Linked DNA regions of Homo sapiens: region 1 is linked to region 2. The links are contacts of gene promoters, found by promoter capture Hi-C in blood cells and fetal thymus (Javierre and others, 2016). All regions are on one chromosome and are shown on one strand. Each heading gives the region's core, a stretch centred on a gene start or on the middle of the fragment in contact. The rest is flanking DNA. Distances are from core to core; before and after follow the strand shown. Region 1 has its middle 13 kb from the start of RAB9B. Region 2 holds the start of TCEAL3 (transcription elongation factor A like 3).

Region 1 (2,771 bases), core at 252-2,751, 210 kb before region 2:
TTCCAGAAACAGGAAGGTGTGGAATACATAATTTGTCTTCCATCTTGTAACTGTAGTTTTAAAACACACTGGAAAATCGAGGTATCAATTTGAGTAATTTCAAGCTGGGAGGTGGGATGGACATCTCTACTTTCATTTGAATTACCCAAAGTAGATCTTGCAGCAATTTTTTTTCCTCAGTGATCTAGATAATCATTTCACTTTTTTTCTCTCTTTGCTGTGGAAATGTAAAATTTACTACAGTGCAGTGTTTTTCTTACACTTGATTTTAGGGCAGATAAACTGTAATATACTGTCTTAGCCCATTTGGGCTGCCCTAACAAAATACCATAAGCTTGGTAGGCTATAAACTACAGAATTTCATTTCTCAGCTCTGGAGGCTAGGAAGTCCAAAATCAAGGCATCCGCACATTCAGGGTCTGGTGAGGTCTTGATTTCTGGTTCACAGATGGCACCTTCCAGCTCTGTGGAAGGGGGAAGGGGTTTCTCCTGGGCCTCTTTTATAAGGACACTAATCCCATTTATGAGGGCTTCACCCTTGTGACCTAATCACCTTCCAAAGGCCCCATCTCCTTATAATGCCATAACCTTGGGGGGTTAGGATTTCAACCTATGAATTTTGGAGGGGGACAAAAAGATTCAGAGCATAGCATACACCTTTTGATAAAACGTTAATGTGCATGATTTGGGATATTCACTAATGTTTTCTTTTTCCAAACTGGTCATTTTAATTTCCTCAAGTTTCCATCACCAAAAGAGCTCTCATTCTTTACTACTTTCTCTTTAAGAGAAGGAAGGGATAATGACAAAAGCTAGGCATGTTTATGGAATAAAGGAAAAATTATTAAATGCCTTCTTACTGATATGCTTGCCAAAACTGGTGAGCAAGGATCTCTTATTCTGCTAGTGATGGTAGTGGTAATAATGTGTGAAAGGGTTTTTTTTTAAGGGGGCAAGAAGTTACTTAATATTTTCCCAGTGAAAATAAGCATCTTCACAGCTCAAGATGTGGCGTCGTCACCTGTAGTCATATAGAAACTGCTGCAGTGATCTTTGTGTCTTCATAAATCTCTTTGCCTTCTCCAAGGAAACACAGAGAATGATGATTCAGTTATATATAAATGTCTTTTTAAACAGTGGGTTTTGTGTGTGCAAGCATGTGTATTTTTAAGTAATCTGTCAGTTCCTTTCGTGCTGTATGAACTATGGGTAAATGTATAATGGTCTCACTATAACACTCCTGAATTTTAATCAGACCTGCCAAGCTGTGCCACATCTAGTTAACTGATTGATAAAAAGAATTGGGAAATGCTGCCTTAATGAAAGAAATAGCTCTTAATTCAACATTAGCTATATTGATTAGAGTAAAAATACAAATCACACTTTCCTGTGGTGCATTCATGAGGAAGCAAGAAACAGGCTCATATCATCTCTTTTCTCTTACGTTGTTCCTGGCTGCCTTAGAAACGACATATCCAAGGGTGTGTCCTGTAATATATTGCTCAACATAGAGTCTGTTAATAGATGAACAAGTGCCAGTAGCCTCTGAGTTCTCTCTTTTTCCATTTGTTCCCTGCTAGAAAACTTAGAGTGACCGATAAATGCTTTAAAATGTTCTTTTTTTCTGATTACAAAAGCCATACACATCCACCGTAGAAAAATGAAGTAATGAAAGAAATAGAAAAGCAAGATTTAAAAAATTAAAGTCATCTGTAATGTAATCCTATTAACCTGAGATAAGCAGATTTTAACATTTTAGTGTAGATTTTAATATATTTATGTATTTTTAAAATTGATTTGATACTGCACACACTGTAATCTTTTTTACTTAATATATATCTATAGTACTTAACTTTTCTCTAAGACATATATTCTTCTAAGATTATATTTGCTGTTTGCATAATATTGTATTGAAGGGTTTACCACAATTACCCATATTGCTAAACTTTTAATAAAACACTTATTGCTAGACATTTAGGTTGTTTTACAGCTGCCTTCTTTTCATAAAATAAAGCATCAGTGAAGTTCCTTAATATCAATCTTAACTCTCACCTCTGTTTATTTCCTACTAGTAAAATTTCTAGGTCAAAGATTATGAATTTTTTATTAATTTTAATATATACTGGCAAATTGGCCTCTAGAAACTTATCCCAAATGACATCAACACCAGTAGAATAAGAGGAAGACTATCTTTCCAACACCCAAACGTATGGACTATTATCTTCCTTTTTAACCCCATATGTGCAGTCTGATGGGTGAAAAAATGATCTCATGCTGTCATTTACATTTATTTAATTTTTTGAGAGTAATTGTTTATACATTCATTGGCCATTTTTATTTTTCCTTGAGTGAATGGACCCTTATGGGGGTTGGGGAACATTCATTTTTGTTTCTTATTGATTCCAAGGAAATCTTTTTTTATATTGTGGGTATTAACCTTTGATCTTATCCACATTGCTAGTTTTCTGCAATCCCCTCCCATAGATCTTGCCTTTTAATTTTGTTTATGGTATTTTAAAAATATACTGCCATATTATAGAAAAGGTTATGTTCTGATAAATTAGAAAACTGGTGGGTTGGGGAAAGAGAGGTGCTTATTTGATTTGTCCTTTGTTTCTGATTATACTCGAGACTACTTTTGTTTAGAAAGGTTATGAATCTAAGCTTTGGTCACCATGATAAAAGAATTGCTAGAAATAAAAAATATTCATTCATCCAGATGCTTTAATTGCATGATGTCAAATGACTGGTTTGAATTGAGTCTACTGCTG
Region 2 (2,700 bases), core at 154-2,653:
GGCGCTTTTCGGCGGCCCGCGGCTGGCTCTCTGGCTTTGCCTGGGAGGCTGGCTTGCCCTCGCCTTGTGGCTTGCCCTCACCTTCGGACCTGCCCTGCTTTTCCTGGCTTCCCTCATCTTCCAGTTGTCCCTCATCACCTGGCTCTCCCTCATCCTCTCTCTTTCCCTCGCATTCTGTCTTCCCCTCCACGTCTGGCTTTTCTTCCTCGTCTGACTTTCCTTCATCATCAGGCTCTACTTCATCTTCTGGCTTTCCCTCGTTTTCCAGGTTTCCTTCATTTTTATTGTAGGGTTTTTCCATGTCGAGATTTCCCCTCCTTTTCCTGTCCTGGGGGATGGGAATGGAGGGAAGAGGAGACAAATAAGAGACATGGGAGACTGAGGGCATGGGGTGGAATGCAGGTCTGGATAGTACTTGCATCTCACCCCTGGTGAGGGTTCCCCTAAGCTGGCAGGGCCCCCAAGAGGGCCTTCTGCCCACCACGTAGCCTGCCACTCCTCCCACACACGTGAGCCAGCCATTCCCTGGCAGTCCCTGCCACCTTCTCTGCACTGGTTCAGCCTGGTAAGGTGTGTGTTCATGTGAGTGGGGGATGGGCAGGGGCCCCAGTTCGGCCCTGGCCGGGCCCTCCACACTCTCAACCCTTATAGGGCCCTGTCCATTGAGCTCCCCCACAACCACCTTCACAGACCTGCAGGGATTCTGGACAGGTTGCTCCTCCTTTTTAGGCCTCGCAGAGCGCTGGGAACAGACGCGCAGACCTGCGGACAGACAGGAGACAGGGGTAGGGGCTGCGCAGTCAGCGGTCTCACAGGGACTCGGTTCCCTTTCCTGAGTCCAGGCCCTGCTTACCCAACGTTTTCCTCCCCTACATCCCCCGCACCCCAGCCGCCATTTCTTTCCAGGCCTCGGGCACCAAACCAGGATGCTTTCCAAACTGCGTTTGTCTCTGTGTCCCCTTCCCCTGGAGGCAACCTGTCCCAGCGCCACCCCGTTTTTGCGGAGGTCAGATGTTTCCATGGGAGCAGATTGTGAGAGGCGGTTATTTCCAGAATATGTCTACGTTTCACTGTTGCACTGCGGGGTTGCCCCCCCGTACTCCATTTCCAGTACTAAAATGGATGGACGGCTCAGTGCAGGGGGTCGTCGAGAAGGCGGGCCAGGCTCCCCCGCCCTTGCCTCCGACCGCTCCGCTTCCCCCTCCTCACCAGTCTCCCGGATCCTTTCTCCGCCCCTCCCTACTCCTACTGCCAGCCACCTCCACCCCTTCCGTGGTTCCGCCGGCAGCGCCCACCTTCACACTGACCTGCCGGGACCCGGGACAGGCCTGTGCCTTCTCCGGCTCGCGGAAGCCCGCTCGCTGCTCCCCCGCTGCCCGGGCAGCTCAGACAGCTGGTTCTGCGCGGGCGCCAGGACCGGACCGCAGGGCGGGCGGGCGGGCGCGGGGGCTGGTGCCCACGTAGGCGCCCGGCGGGTCACGTGAGCGCCGCGTCACCCGAGCTCGGCCCCCCTTGCCTGACCCACCTCACCATCCAACCCCGAAGGACCGGGAGGCTGGGGACGGTCGGGGTCGGGGTGTGTTTGTGTAGCAAAGGGGGGTCACGGAGAAGAGGAGGAGGGGGTGGCTTTCTGACCCCAGGTGCTTTACCTGGCGCATCTCACGGCATCCTCGCAGGGTATCTCTCTCTGATGCCATTATCGCCAGGTGTGACAGCTGATCAAAGAGGGTACCCGACTTTGCCAAGAGCGCTCAGCCCCAGAACTCCAGAGCCCGCTTTCAAGACTGTCTCTGCCTGACTCCAGAGCCCAGGGTGGTGCTGCCTGCCAGGAAGCTGAGCTGCCACCTTGAGTGGCAGTGTTCCTAGGGTTCTGTCCTGGGCCTCCTCTCTCCTCAGTCCTCAAGTTCTGTCTCCCTGTTTGATCTCATTCATTTCCAGTAAAGACCAATGACTTCCAGATTTACATCTCCAGGCTATTCCCTCCCCAGAATCTCAGACCTATTTTTGCATTCCCATCAGAAATATAGGGGAGTGTTTTGTTTCCCAATGCCCTTCCCAACATAACCTATGACATACTTTTAAATGTTCACTGATATGATAGTTGAGAAGTAATATCTCAATGGCATTTTATTTTGCCTTATCTGTGTTTAAGGACAATTTAAATATCTTTCTTTGTGAATTGTCGGTTCATGTCTTTTCCACATTTTTCTAGTGGGTTGTTGGTCCTTCTCACCTCAATTTTCAAGTTTTCTTAATACATTAACTGTTATATATGTTGCAATTTTCTCTCCAGTTTGTCAGTTGCTTTTTGGCTTTGTTTATGGTGTTTTTCTGCCATGCATTAAAAAAAGTAGTCAAATTTATTTAACTTTTATTGCCTCTAGATTTCGATTCATAGTTAAGAAATCTTTTCCTACATAAGGTCCAAGAAGCATTCACCCATGTTTTCTTCTAGTATTCATATGGTTTTCTTTACATTTAGAGTTTATATTTGTGTATGGCATAAAGTATTGATGGATCTTTTGTTTTCTTTTTCCAATCGGTTTCTCAGTTGTTCTGGCATCAGAAAGTCCATCTTTGCTTTAGGGATTTGAGATACCACCTTTATTACATATCAAATATCCATATGTACTTGGAAAACCTTCTGGGCTTTTTATTCTATTTCATTGGTCTGTTTGCTATCCATATACCAGTTGAATT

The links. Contacts are between HindIII fragments. The CHiCAGO score rates a contact against its expected background, and 5 or more counts as called.
Region 1: a contact is called between a fragment that was not itself captured here and the fragment with the promoter of TCEAL3 in region 2, in 1 of 17 cell types (activated CD4 T cells). The highest score is 5.3, in activated CD4 T cells.

The regions. Positions count from the first base shown.
Region 1 is chrX:103,817,754-103,820,524 of GRCh38, reverse strand. It overlaps a transcript of RAB9B not described here. Among named protein-coding and RNA genes, the nearest start is that of RAB9B, 13 kb to the left of the region's middle. The HindIII fragment of the contact is 2,330 bases long and covers 337-2,666 here.
Region 2 is chrX:103,606,666-103,609,365 of GRCh38, reverse strand. TCEAL3 (transcription elongation factor A like 3) reads right to left here and starts at 1,403. Exons shown (of 3, transcript NM_032926.3): 1 at 1,308-1,403; 2 at 693-762; 3 at 1-328. The coding sequence starts at 301. RefSeq lists silencers at 1,079-1,248, 1,279-1,508. The HindIII fragment of the contact is 12,227 bases long and covers 1-2,700 here.